Regions from separate parts of the Homo sapiens genome. Here region 2 is linked to region 1. Evidence: promoter capture Hi-C in human tissues and cell types (Jung and others, 2019). All regions are on one chromosome and are shown on one strand. Each heading gives the region's core, a stretch centred on a gene start or on the middle of the fragment in contact. The rest is flanking DNA. Distances are from core to core; before and after follow the strand shown.

Evidence for each region. The method cuts DNA at HindIII sites, captures the fragments that hold promoters and counts their contacts. A contact is called where the count stands out against the background at its distance.
Region 2: a contact is called between a fragment that was not itself captured here and the fragment with the promoter of SGCB in region 1, in 1 of the 25 tissues and cell types used here (bladder).

Annotation. Positions count from the first base shown.
Region 1 is chr4:52,034,358-52,041,358 of GRCh38, reverse strand. It overlaps SGCB (sarcoglycan beta), which reads left to right and starts at 3,060. Exons shown (of 6, transcript NM_000232.5): 1 at 3,060-3,132. The coding sequence starts at 3,100. RefSeq lists a silencer at 2,848-3,287 and an enhancer at 3,528-3,647. The HindIII fragment of the contact is 15,508 bases long and covers 887-7,001 here.
Region 2 is chr4:51,980,087-51,987,087 of GRCh38, reverse strand. No RefSeq gene overlaps it. Among named protein-coding and RNA genes, the nearest start is that of LRRC66, 37 kb to the left of the region's middle. The HindIII fragment of the contact is 3,172 bases long and covers 2,134-5,305 here.

The DNA of each region.
Region 1 (7,001 bases), core at 1,811-4,310:
TTTGTAACACACAAACTTGGTGGCTTTAAACAACAGAAATTTGTTGTCTTACAGTTCCAGAGGTTAGAAGTAAGAAATCAGAGCCTTCTGGAGGCTCTAAGCGTATATCTGCTCCATCCCTCTTTCTTAGCTTCTGGTAGCGGTTGGCAATTATTGGTATTCCTTGCCTAGTAGAGTGATCACTCCAATCTCTGCTTCTATGTTCATATCATCTTAGTGTATGTTGCCATTCTGTCCTCTTATAAGGATAAGGGCTCATCCTAAATTCAGAGTGATCTCAAGATCCTTAAAAACATCTGTCTTAGTTCATTTGGGCTGCTATAACAGAATATGGACTAGGTGGCTTATAAACAACAGAGCTTTATTTCTCACAGTTTTGGAGGTTGGGACATCCAAGATCAACATGCTTAGAGATTTAGTGTCTGGTGAAGGCCTGTTTCCTGATTCATAGATGTCACTGTGTCCTCACATGGTGGAAGAAACAAACCAATTCTCTTGGATCTATTTTATAAAGGCACTAATCCTATTCATGAGAACTAATCATGAATAGTGATAGCTAATCACCCATCATTTCCTTCTATGATGTGAATGTGTCCCCAAAAATTCATGTTCGGAAATTTAATCTCCAATGCAACAGCATTGGGTGGTGTTGCCTTTTGAGAGCTGTTCAGGTCATAGGGGCTTGGCATTCCTCCCCTCAGGATGACAAGGTGTTCAAGGTAACATCCTGGAAACAGAGACCAGACCCTCATCAGACAACTGAACCTGCTTGGACTTCTCAGCCTCCAGAACTGTGGGAAAATAATTTTTTGTGCTTTATAAATTCTTCACTCTCAGATGGTCTGTTATAGAAGCACAAAGTGGACTAAGTCAGCTTCTAAAGGCCCTACCTCCTAATATCATCACACTGGGGGCTAAGATTTCCACATGTGAAATATTCAGGGGAGACACAAACATTCATTCTATAGCAATCTGCAAAGACTCTGTTTCAAAGTAACACCACGTTCACAGATACTGGAGGTTAGGACTTGGATATGCCTTTTTGCAGGGCACTATTCAAACCACTGCAAAGTGAACAAAGGTGTAAGTGTCTTCATAATCTGACTCATACTCCAGCCCTGGGGACCTGTGTTTTGTGCTTCCAAATGCTAATATCATGCAACAGTCAAAAGAAAGAGCAAAATTAAAGGCTGTGATGTATGGTAGAAAGAGCAAAGACTAGTCAGATGGACCTAGATTCAATACTGGCTCTTTAGGAGTTGAAAAGATGGTCAGCCATTTAACCTCTACAAGCCTTGATTTCTTCATTTGTAAAAGAGGCATTGCCAGGCACAGAGTTGACTTTAAATGTCATTATTTCAGGGGAAAAAAGGCTGACAATAGTACATTTGAAAATAACCCACATTAAAATGTGGTCATGTGAGTGAATTGGATCTCTTTAAAAGAGAATAGAAATTGGCATTAAGAATAGTGGGATGTCCTGTCAGAGATGGACATCAGCGATGAGGAAAGAATCCAAGAGAAGGTGATATTCAAATAGCCAAAGGAGCATTTGGTTTCAGGAAAATTGGCTACCAGGTATCTCACCACCTAAGTGGGAGGGAGGTTGGCAAAATCAAGTCAGGGCTTAGAAATTGGGATACTGGGCAGATTTCTAAGATATCTATTAAGTTTAATTACTGTGCTAGACATTGGAGATTAAACGATGAGTAAGACACCTACCTTCCAGATAGAACACACCATCTTTTGAATGAAATCAGCAGGTAGACAAGATAAAAATACAATGCAATCTGAAGTGCTAGAAAAGGCTAGGCACACAGTTAAGGAACAGATCTGTGGGAGCCTCTGAAGCCTTTAGAGAAAATATGACGTTTGAATAGAATAGTTCTTGAAGGATGAATAAGAGTGCGCGTGCCAGGGAAGAAGAACTTTCCCAGCAGAGAGAAAAACGCAAAGCTTAGGAATTAAGGACTAGAAGATAGGAACTCAGAATCAGTTAAAAGCCCAGTTGTGCAAATTGATCAATGAGACCACAGGCAGAATATTAACACAGAGCCTTACTGCTGACTCCTGCATCATTGGGCTTTAACTTAGAATTTTCCTGCCTAAAATGCATGTTTGTCCCACAGACTCAGAGAGGAGTGAGTCTAGAGATATGAGTCAAGTGGTTCCAGCATTTAGGAAAAAAGAAATGCAGAGAGACTGATGACCAGCTAGGTACTGACTCCCACTGAATTAGACAGTACTAGGGCCCAAAGGTGCTTATTAGAAGTGATTCAGCTACATGAGGAACAGTTGCTATTGACTTCACTGCATTTTTTTTCAGCTAAAATAATTATTGGATTATATCTACAACAGGGAACAATGAATGTCTACTCAAGTAACTCGTACATTTGAGTGGCTTCCCGGTGTTCAGTAAATGTCCGTTCAATTAGGTTCCCGAGGATATACATGGTAACACTATCTCCAACACTAAATGAAAAATCCATCCCCAGTATCGCAGGATAAAAACATCAGACTTCATAGGCCTCCGAAGTCAAGCAGCCCGAAGGATTCAACGTCCTCCTTGAGGACTCTCAGTCTTCAAGACTCCAGCCACCTAAGTGACCACTCGTTCACTTCTGCCCACGCAGTCACCACGCCGGTCCGCGTCCACTTGTGGTCTCGATATCGGCCCCTCCCACCCTAGCCAAGGAGACCTTGGTCCGAGAAACAAAGAGAGCCTCACAGCTCCGGATGGCACCGATCTTTCAGCGATGGGGAACAAAGGGGAAGGGGAGAAGCGTCCTCGATTTTTGAGGGTGCCCTTTCTGAGGAATCTGCAGGCGGCCCGGGGTGGAGCGGAATCCCCATAGGCCCCTTCTGGCCCCTGTGCAATACAACGCGCCCCAGGCCAAGGTCCTAGGTGCAGGGGCCGCCGCAGAGCCTGAGCCCGCAGGGCTGGGATGCGGGTCGTCAGGGATGCGGGCTGGGGAGGGGAGGGTGTGAGCAGCGGGTGCCCCCAGTCCCCGCCAGGGCGCAAGCGCAGGCGCGCAGGGTGCGGTCGCGGAGGGGCGGGCACAGTCGGGCGGGGAGCTCGGCGGCGGCGGGCGCGGGAAGATGGCGGCAGCGGCGGCGGCGGCTGCAGAACAGGTCTGTGAGTACCGCCGCGGCCGCGGGCTGGAGGAGCGGGGGAGGCCGCGTCCTGCCGGCTGGGCCCGCGGGAGCCCTGGCCGGGGGTGCGGGGGGCGCGGGCCGCAGGGTCTGGGTTCGGCGGGGCCGATCGGGGCGGGGCGGGGCGGGAGGAGCTGTGCCCCGCCGAGGATGCTGGCACAAGCTAGGGACCAGGAGCCAGGGGCGGCCTCGGGCTCGGCCCGGCCTGGCTGATCCTCGGAGGGGGTGAGGAGGGGTCTCCTTCCGGAGAGCCTGGGAGGCGGTCGAGCCAGCCTGGAAGCCTGCGCTGGGACGTGCCAGGGACGTACCCCGTTCAGCCGCCAGCAGAGATTTGGATAAAAATAACCGCAGCCCCAGCGAGAAGGCTCCTCTTACAAGAAACGGGTCAGCTGTTGCCCCGGTGTCAGCTTGCCATCTTTGTTTTTTGTTTCTGCCATCTCCAATATGCAGACATCCCAGATTTCCCCTCACGCTTTGGTTTTTGAAGATTTAGTCACCAGTCTAAAACTATCTCCTGTTCACTTTTAAAAATGATTTATCCAAGATTTCCTGACCTGCATTGTAAACTTGTAACTTAGAATGGTTTAAAAGGCTCCTCATCCCCCCAAAATCTAGTTATACGTATGCATACATGTACATGCATATGTGTGTGTGTTAATATATACATACACGTAATCGCTAGGGTGATTTATTGTAATACAGATAATTTTCAGTAACTTTCCCCCTTACCTAACTTACTTTTCCTTTGAACAATTATAGTAGTTTCTCTTTAAAAAGTCTCATTCTAAAACATTGTTGAAAAAAATGAGTCAAGTTTTGACCTTTGGAACGATTTTCTTAGATAATTAACTTTTTAGAGACCTATTAGATATATGTCACTGGAGGGCTCATTCTGAAGATAAAAGACGTAAAATCTCTCTTCAAGGAGCTTAAAGTCATACAGCCAAATACATGCAGAAAAAATCAGCTAAAGACAATAGGCAGGCTGCAGATTTGTAACAGTAAAATAAAACATAGAGGAATGAGTGAAACTGAAAGGAGACAAAACTTCTTGGAGTTGGTATTTAAATTGTGCCTTGGCTTTCCTCATTTCCCGCCTAAGTTATCAGCTTCTGTTTCAGATGATTGTTTTTCCATCTGGTTCTATTTTTGCTTTACACATAAGTGGGGCAGTCTGATCCGTTACTCAGTCTCCACTTCAAATTTACGCATTACGTCTCCAGCCCTGAACTTAACTGAATTTTCCATAGGCACCTCAAACTCAAAAATGTTCAAAACTGGACTCTGTCATACTTACTATTAAAAAGGCTACAACCATCCATTCACTTGTTTAACCTAGCCAGAAACTTAGGACCAAGGCCATTTTAAGGGAGCTGAGAAGGACCTGCACTTGGTTTAATGTTCTGCTGTCCTGGGCTTGAGATTTAAACAGTGAGCCCCACATTTTCTTTTCCCCCTGGGCCCCACAAATTATATAGCCAGTCCTATTTGGGAGTCATCTTCGACCCCTTTGTGCCACACTCATATCCAAACAATCACGAGATCCTGACAGTTCTACCTCTTAACACCTTTCCCCAGACTTCAGCTTCAAAGTCAAACCTCAGTCAGTACCTCATTGGGACTCTTAGAGAAACCTGCTGTTGATATCTTCACTTCTAGGCTCTTCAGTTCCAGTTCATCTCTTTTTGGAGTGATTTTACTACAATGCAAATCTGATTGTATAGGAAACCTATTTTAACTCTTCAGTAGTTCCCCTTTGCCTTCAGGATAAAGTCCATTGTTCTTGTCATGGTATTTATGTTGCTTACTGGCCCCTAAGCACATCTCTCATTGTATTTCTTGCTTCATCCCTACACCTATCCTTCTCACCATCCACATAAAGTGACCAAAATTAGTTCTCCCAGAGATGGTTGCCTCTCAAAGTCTCCATGCTTCTTCCTCTGCCTAGAGTGACCTTCTTAGCTCTTTTGCCTGGTTAACTCCTGTCCATCCTTCAAGAGTTAACTCAACCTTCAGCTTTTCTTAGAAACTTTCCCTGATGCCCTTGCCTGCTAGGTGGAGATGCATTCCTCTTCTGTACCCTTTCTGTATTGTATGCATTGCTCCACTACAGCACTTGTCATGCTTTGTGAACTGTTAGTCACCTTGTCTGTCTACCTGACTGGCCTGTAATTAAGCTCCTTGAGGGTGGACACTATGTTCATCCTGGTAGCTTGGAGCACCTGGCTTATAGTAACTATTCAATAAATGTTAAATGCATCAAGATGAAGACAGTAATGTGCATGGTTTGGCAGAGAAGAGTAAAGACTACGTCTCAGGAGGGATGAATTTTGTCCTTTCTCTCTTTTATGTGGACCTATATTCAAACTTTGGCTAACACTTTTAAGTTGCCCATCTGTTAGGGCTGTCAGAAGCCTGAGGTTCTTTTTTGGAACCTGACTACAAATTCTGTTAAGTCTTCTCTTAAAGTATCTACTTAATCTCTCCTTTTTCATCCCACTTTAGTTTAGGTCCTCTTAACCTCAATCCTCCATTACTACAACATCCCCAGCAGCTTACTTACTGGTACTCCTCTTTCTTCTCTCTCGTACAAATGCCCACACCTTTAACACTCTGAATTTGTGCTCAAAAACCTCCAGTGACTCCCAATTAAATAGAACATAAAGACTAGAATTTGTACCCTGCTGTCCAAGAACCTTCACAACCTGGCCCTACTTTTCCAACTTCCTCTTCCCTGCCTTGCCATATCTGACCCATCTACTTCTCCCCATTTCCCTAACAACTCCAGGTCATCCTGTCTCTCCTCCCTTTGAACTCTGCAGTGTGTATTGCCTAGACTATTGATTTTGGCACCTGAACATACAGAGTGCTTTATTGCATTGTTAAATATTTTATGTTAACATGTACACAAATCATATCTGTTAATACATAGAGGATAAGGACCCTTTCCTATAGTTCTTTTGTATTCCTATCTATGGAATTAGTGTTTAAGCGTAAAGTGCTTAATACATGCGTATTCAACAACTGAATTTTCTCAGAGCTTTAAGAAATAAGTAGGACAGTATCCATTTCTGCCCATTTCTTTTGTGCTCTTGATATTCAAGATTATTACCCAAAATGTCATTCAACCATAGTCTAGGTCAGAGGTTCTCAAATCATTTTGGTCTCAGGTTCTCTTTACACTCTTAAAAAATGGAGGATTCCAAAGAGCTTTGGTTTATGTGGGTTATATTCATTGATATTTACTATAGGAGAAGTTAAAATGGAGAAATTTTTAAAGTACAGGGCTATACAAGCATACATTCTGTTGAGTGATGATGCCATCACATTGGTCATGTAGCCTTTACATTCATGGGCCTAGGAGAGTAAAAACAGCAAACAGTATCTCAGTGTTATTTCAAAAATACAGCCCCCCAAAGGGTTTGTGGAACCCTCCCAGGACTCCCCACCCTGCATTTGAAAACTACTGATCTAGGGTAATGTGAGCTCTAGTCAGTGAAATTATAAGTAACAAACTATGTCAGCCTTTCCGGTCTTATTTTCATATAAATGAAAATATATACCGTTGTCCCTCAATATCTATGGGGGATTGGTCTCAGGACCCCCAAAGGATAGCCAAATCCATTGATGCTCAAGTCCCTTATATAAAGTGGTGCAGTTTTTGCATGTAACCTCTGCACATCCTCCTGTATACTTTAAATCCATCTGCAGATTACTTACAACACTGAACACAATGTAAACACTATGTAAACAGTTGTTATACTGTATTGTTTAGGGAATAATGACAAGGAAAAAGTCGTACATGTTCTGTACAAATGCAACCATTCCCTTTTTTTTTTTTTTTTTTT
Region 2 (7,001 bases), core at 2,470-4,969, 55 kb after region 1:
AGGCTCTGAAATTCAGGGAATAATTAATAGCTTACCAACCAAAAAAAGTCCAGGACCAGACAGATTCACAGCCAAATTCCACCAGAGGTACAAGGAGGAGCTGGTACCATTCCTTCTGAAACTATTCCAATCAATAGAAATAGAGGGAGTTCTCCCTAACTCATTTTATGAGGCCAGCATCATCCTGATACCAAAGCCTGGCAGAGACACAATGAAAAAAGAGAATTTTAGACCAATATCCCTGATGAGCATCGAAGCAAAAATCCTCAATAAAATACTGGCAAACTGAATCCAGCAGCACATCAAAAAGCTTATGCACCATGATCAAGTGGGCTTCATCCCTGGGACTAAGGCTAGTTCAACATATGAAAATGAATAAATGTAATCCAGCATATAAACAGAACCAAAGACAAAAACCACATAATTATCGCAAAAGATGCAGAAAAGTCCTTTGAAAAAATTCAACAGCCCTTCATGCTAAAAACTCTCAATAAATTAAGTATCGATGGGACATATCTCAAAATAATAAGAGCTATTTATGACAAACCCACAGCTAATATCATACTGAATGGGCAAAAACTGGAAGCATTCCCTTTGAAAACTGGCACAAGACAGGGATGCCCTCTCTCACCACTCATATTCAACATAGTGTTGGAAGTTCTGGCCAGGGCAATCAGGCAGAAGAAAGAAATAAATGGTATGCAATTAGGAAAAGAGGAAGTAAAATTGTCCCTGTTTGCAGATGACATGATTGTATATCTAGAAAACCCCATTGTCTCAGCCCAAAATCTCATTAAGCCGATAAGCAACTTCAACAAAGTCTCAGGATACAAAATCAACGTACAAAAATCACAAGCATTCTTATACACCAACAACAGACAAACAGAGAGCCAAATCATGAGTGAAATCCCATTCACAATTGCTTCAAAGAGAATAAAATACCTAGGAATCCAACTTACAAGGGATGTGAAGGACCTCTTCAAGGGGAACTACAAACTACTGCTCAACAAAATAAAAGAGGACACAAACAAATGGAAGAACATTCCATGATCATGGATAGGAAGAATCAATATCGTGAAAATGGCCATACTGCCCAAGGTAACTTATAGATTCAATGCCATCCCCATCAAGCTACCAATGACTTTCTTCACAGAATTGGAAAAAACTACTTTAAAGTTCATATGGAACCAAAAAAGAGCCCACATTGCCAAGTCAATCCTAAGCCAAAAGAACAAAGCTGGAGGCGTCACATTACCTGACTTCAAACTATACCACAAGGCTACAGTAACCACAACAGCATGGTATTGATACCAAAACAGAGATATAGACCAATGGAATAGAACAGAGCCCTCAGAAATAATACCACACATCTACAACTATCTGATCTTTGACAAACCTGAAAAAAACAAGAAATGGGGAAAGGAATCCCTATTTAACAAATGGTGCTGGGAAAACTGGCTAGCCATATGTAGAAAGCTGAAACTGGATCCCTTCCTTACACCTTACACAAAAATTAAGTTGAGATGGATTAAAGACATAAATGTTAGACCTAAAACCATAAAAACCCTAGAAGAAAACCTAGGCAATACCATTTAGGACATAGGCATGGGCAAGGACTTCATGTCTAAAACACCAAAAGCAATGGCAACAAAAGCCAAAATTGACAAATGGGATATAATTAAATGAAAGAGCTTCTGCACAGCAAAAGAAACTACCATCAGAGTGAACAGGCAACCTAAAGAATGGGAGAACAATTTTGCAATCTACTCATCTGACAAAGGGCTAATATCCAGAATCTACAAAGAACTCAAACAAATTTACAAGAAAAAAAACAATGCCATCAACAAGTGGGCGAAGGATATGAACAGACACTTCTCAAAAGCAGACATTTATGCAGCCAACAGACAGATGAATAAATGCTCATCACCACTGGCCATCAGAGAAATGCAAAGCAAAACTGCAATGAGATACCATCTCACACCAGTTAGAATGGTGATCATTAAAAAGGATGTGAAGGACCTCTTCAAGGGGAACTACAAACCACTGCTCAATGAAATAAAAGAGGATACAAACAAATGGAAGAACATTCCATGCTCATGGGTAGGAAGAATCAATATCCTGAAAATGGCCATACTGCCCAAGGTAATTTATAGATTCAATGCCATCCCCATCAAGCTACCAATGACTTTCTTCACAGAATTGGAAAAAAATACTTTAAAGTTCATATGGAAGCAAAAATGAGCCCACATTGCCAAGTCAATCCTAAGCCAAACGAAAAAAGCTGGAGGCATCACGCTACCTGACTTCAAACTATACCACAAGGCTACAGTAACCAAAACAGCATGATACTGGTACCAAAACAGAGATATAGACCAATGGAACAGAGCAGAGCCCTCAGAAATAATGCCACATATCTACAACTATTTGATCTTTGATAAACCTGACGAAAACAAGAAATGGGGAAAGGATTCCTTATTTAACAAATGGCGCTGGGAAAACTGGCTAGCCATATGTAGAAAGCTGAAACTGGATCCCTTCCTTACACCTTATACAAAAATTAAGTCAAGATGGACTAAAGAATTAAATGTTAGACCTAAAACCATAACAACCCTAGAAGAAAACCTAGGCAATACCATTCAGGACATAGGCATGGGCAAGGACTTCATGTCTAAAACACCAAAAGCAATTGGCAACAAAAGCCAAATTGACAAATGGGATCTAATTAAACTAAAGAGCTTCTGCACAGCAAAAGAAACTACCATCAGAGTGAACAGGCAACCTACAGAATGGGAGAACATTTTTGCAATCTACTCATCTGACAAAGGGCTAATATCCAGAATCTACAAAGAACTCCAACAAATTTACAAGAAAAAAACAACCCCATCAAAAAGTGGGCAAAGGATATGAACAGACACTTCTCAAAAGAAGACATTTATGCAGCCAAAAGACACATGGGAAAATGCTCATCACCACTGGCCATCAGAGAAATGCAAATCAAAACCACAATGAAATACCATCTCACACCAGTTAGAATGGTGATCATTAAAAAGTTGGGAAACAACAGGTGCTGCAGAGGATGTGGAGAAATAGGAACACTTTTACACTGTTGGTGGGACTGTAAACTAGTTCAACCATTGTGGAAGACAGTGTGGTGATTCCTCAGGGTTCTAGAACTAGAAATATCATTTGACCCAGCCATCCCATTACTGGGTATATACCCAAAGGAATATAAATCATGCTGCTATAAAGACACATGCACACGTATGTTTATTGCAGCACTACTTACAATAGCAAAGACTTGGAACCAACCCAAATATTCAACAATGATAGACTGGATTAAGAAAATGTGGCTCATATACACCATGGAATACTATGTAGCCATAAAAAATGATGAGTTCATGTCATTTGTAGGGACATGGATGAAGTTGGAAACCATCATTCTCAGCAAACTATTGCAAGGACAAAAAACCAAACACTGCATGTTCTCATTCATAGGTGGGAATTGAGTAAGGAGAACACTTGGACACAGGAAGGGGAATATCACACCCCAGGGCCTGTTGTGGGGTTGGGGGAAGGGGGAGGGATAGCATTAGGAGACATACCTAATGTAAATGAAGGCTTAATGGGTGCAGCACACCATTAACGTTGTGCACATGTACCCTAGAACTTAAAGTATAATAATATATATGTATATAAAGTATATGCATATATATAAAATAAAAAAATAAAAAATAAAAATCTGTGTACCACACTGGGTACCTGTATACAAAACAAACAAACAAACAACAACAACAGAAAACAAATCTCTGAGAACCGGGAGTGCTGATGTCTAAGAGCAGGAGGAGATAATGTCTCAGCTCAATAAGACAGAGGAAAGCCCTCTTTTCTCCACCTTTTTGTTCTATTTAGGCCCTCAATGGATTGGGTGCTGCCCACCCACATAGGTGAGAGAAAGCTTTATTTGGCTGCTGACTCAAATGCTAATCTCTTCCAGAAACACCTTCACAGACACACCCAGAAACCATGTTTTACCAGCCATCTGGGCATCCCTTACCCATCAAGTAGGCACATAAAATTGACGATCACACCTCCTGCCCTACATCCCTTTACTATTCCCCACACTGCAGCCAGGGGGTGGTTTCTAAAATGCAAATATGATTATGTGGCTTCCCTGAGTAGAGTCCATCCATTGGCTATAGGTTTTTCTGTTTCCCTAAAGCTCCACATGTAACTGAAACACAGGTTCGGTCACTCACCACCTGCAGAGTCCAATTAACAAGATTGAGTCTGGTATAAAGAAAGTGACATTATTCCACAGCATAGCTTAGGGGAAGAAGTACAGGCTCCTGCCTTTAAGGATATCACTTTACTTTTGGGCAGAAAGCAGAGGCTTTTAAGCAGGGACTTGGCATGAATGGCATGCAGGAGAGGGAGAAAGCAGGTGTAGGGTCTGCATGACTCGCTTTGATGCCATAACTACCGAGCTGGCACCATCGTGGGCAGAGCTAGGTTGTAAGGTGGCCACTGTCTTGAGATCCACTCCAGGTGAAAGAGAGCTCTGTTGCGGGGCACTTCAGGTTGTAAATTGACTGTTGTCTCTTGAGGCCATCTCCTGGTGGGAGAATTCCCTCTCTGGTGCATAGTTATTAGGTTGGTGCAAAAGTAATTGTTGTTTTTGCCATTACTTTTGCCAAATTACTCTGGCACCAACCTAATAGATAAGCTTGCTCTGTAGGAAGTGTCTGGCGAAGGGAAGGTAAAGGTTATAATTTCATTTCTAAAGAGCTAAGAAGTGAGGAACAAGGGAAAAGGGGGAAAGAGAAAAGAAGGAAAACAATAAAACATAACCCATTCTTTTTCTCTTAGAAAAGAGGGGGTACTTGGTTATACACATGCCTGTCCATCTCCCCGCCCTTGCCCATGTTCCTCCTGCCCAAAGCGCTTTTTCACAAACAAGCCCTCCTTTAGCTGACACGCTCCCACTTAGGTCTCCGCTGTGTTGTCACCTCCTCAGGGAAGACGTCTCAGATGCCTCACTAAGTTAGATTTCCCTATTACAAATTCTGTCATTACACAGCATTGGCCTTTCTATAGGAGAGCTTATCACAAGTAAAATTAAATAATTAGTCATATGATTAGGTTTAATGTCTGTCTGCCCCTTTAATACTGTAAGTGCCACACAAACAAAAAAATTGTGTCTATCTCCCCAAGACTTGGCACTGAGTAGGTTCTTAATACATGCATTCATTAAATAAATGAAAGAGCAAACTTTAGTACAGTGTACAAGGACATCTAGCATCTGTCCCTGCTTACCACCCAGCTTGTATTTCATGGTGCTTTGCCCCATTCCTAACATCCAAAGTTCATGCCAGTGCACCAAGTGTAACTGCTTGCAGTTACAAACTCACCAGTCTATATCATTTCACCATGTCTTGGCCCGTATTGCTGCCTGCTTTCTGGGTGGTACCTCTGGCCTCCCCACCAAGTCCCATCTCATCTGCCTGGTGAGTATCTACTCTTCTTTGAATAAGCTGTTTATGGATTATTTCCTCCATGAGCTTTTCTCACCTCATTCCACCCAAGTAGAATCTACCACTTCCTTCTTCCCTGGGGTCTCCACTGTACCGTTTTGTGTATTACAGAAGAAACAGGGCTTCACATGACTTTACTGAGATCTGCTAGAGACTCTTCTATTGGCCAACTTCCAACTCAGGTGAAATTCAGTTTTGCCAAGAGTTTACTCCCAATGTGGAGTCCATAAAGTCATCTCAGAGCTGGTAAGTATTTCATAGAGTGAAAAATTACCTCCTATTCCATCAACACAGAGAAAAGAGGAATATACCGCATTCACTATTTTTGTTTGTTTTGTTTAGACTTCCAAAAGAAGCTTCTGGTAGCATGGCATAAATGTCACAGTTTATATGTAGGTGTTGCAGATTTCTCAGTAAGCCTCTTGTTTCTTGCAAAAACAAATTTTAAAAATCTTTGTCAATATGCCTGCCATAAGCTTGGCTAAAATTGCTTGATGTGAGTGATATTTGAAGCCTTCCACTTTCAGATTTTTAAAATGTCTCACCCTTGGACTCTGCTCTCAAGTTGCCTCAAAATTTAAACTATCTAAGTTCTATAGAGTCCCTTTACCCCAGTTTTTCCCTCTGTTTTAGTTTCACTTGTTTCGATTATGTCTCTAGTTGTTACACAAATGACTTTTAAAACATATTCCATTTTTTTTATTTTTTCACTAAAACATATTCCCCCCTTGCATTTCTTTATCAGAGTAACTCAAACATGTTTTTATGAGCCTAACAATTCCACATCAGTATATTTTAGTCCAAGAAATACTTTTTGAAAATCTCTGGTATAATTTACCTTTACATGTTCCTAAAACCATTATATAAGTCTTGGTCCTTTGGGCACAAACCCAAAACATGAAACGTTAAAACCTTATCCTCCTTGAAGAGCAGCAAATGCCATATATGAATTGTCTTTTCAATGTTGCTCCCTAAAAACCCTTCAGGTTCCATAAAGTCATTTTGGGATCAGATGGACAAATTTTTCCCTATCCCTCTACAGTGGTCCAGGGTGTGAGGCCTGAGATTCTCTCTTTCTTCCTGGGAAGTCTTTGTCCAGTTCTTTTTGGTGACCATGCACAGCAAGGGTAAAAAATCAAGGGAGTAACCAAGAGTAACCAGGAATAGCTGCTAGAATCACAAAACAGCAAATAAATGCCAGCAAGCAGATGTCCATGTATCTCAGTCTGTTTAAAAGACAAAATCCACTCCACTCAAGGATACACATTTCATTTGAGTACCTTCAGATTCAAGGGAGATAAATGTAGCGGGGGAGAAGGGGTTCTTACGTCTTATGAGTGAAAAGTTTTGATGAATTTCATTAGTAATTTACACTAGATTAATATGCCATCAAATAAATGTAAGTGGCAGGCCACAGGCTTAAGAAAGCAAGTCTTTGATGAGCTTGTCCACTCAAGAGTAAGGGGGAGA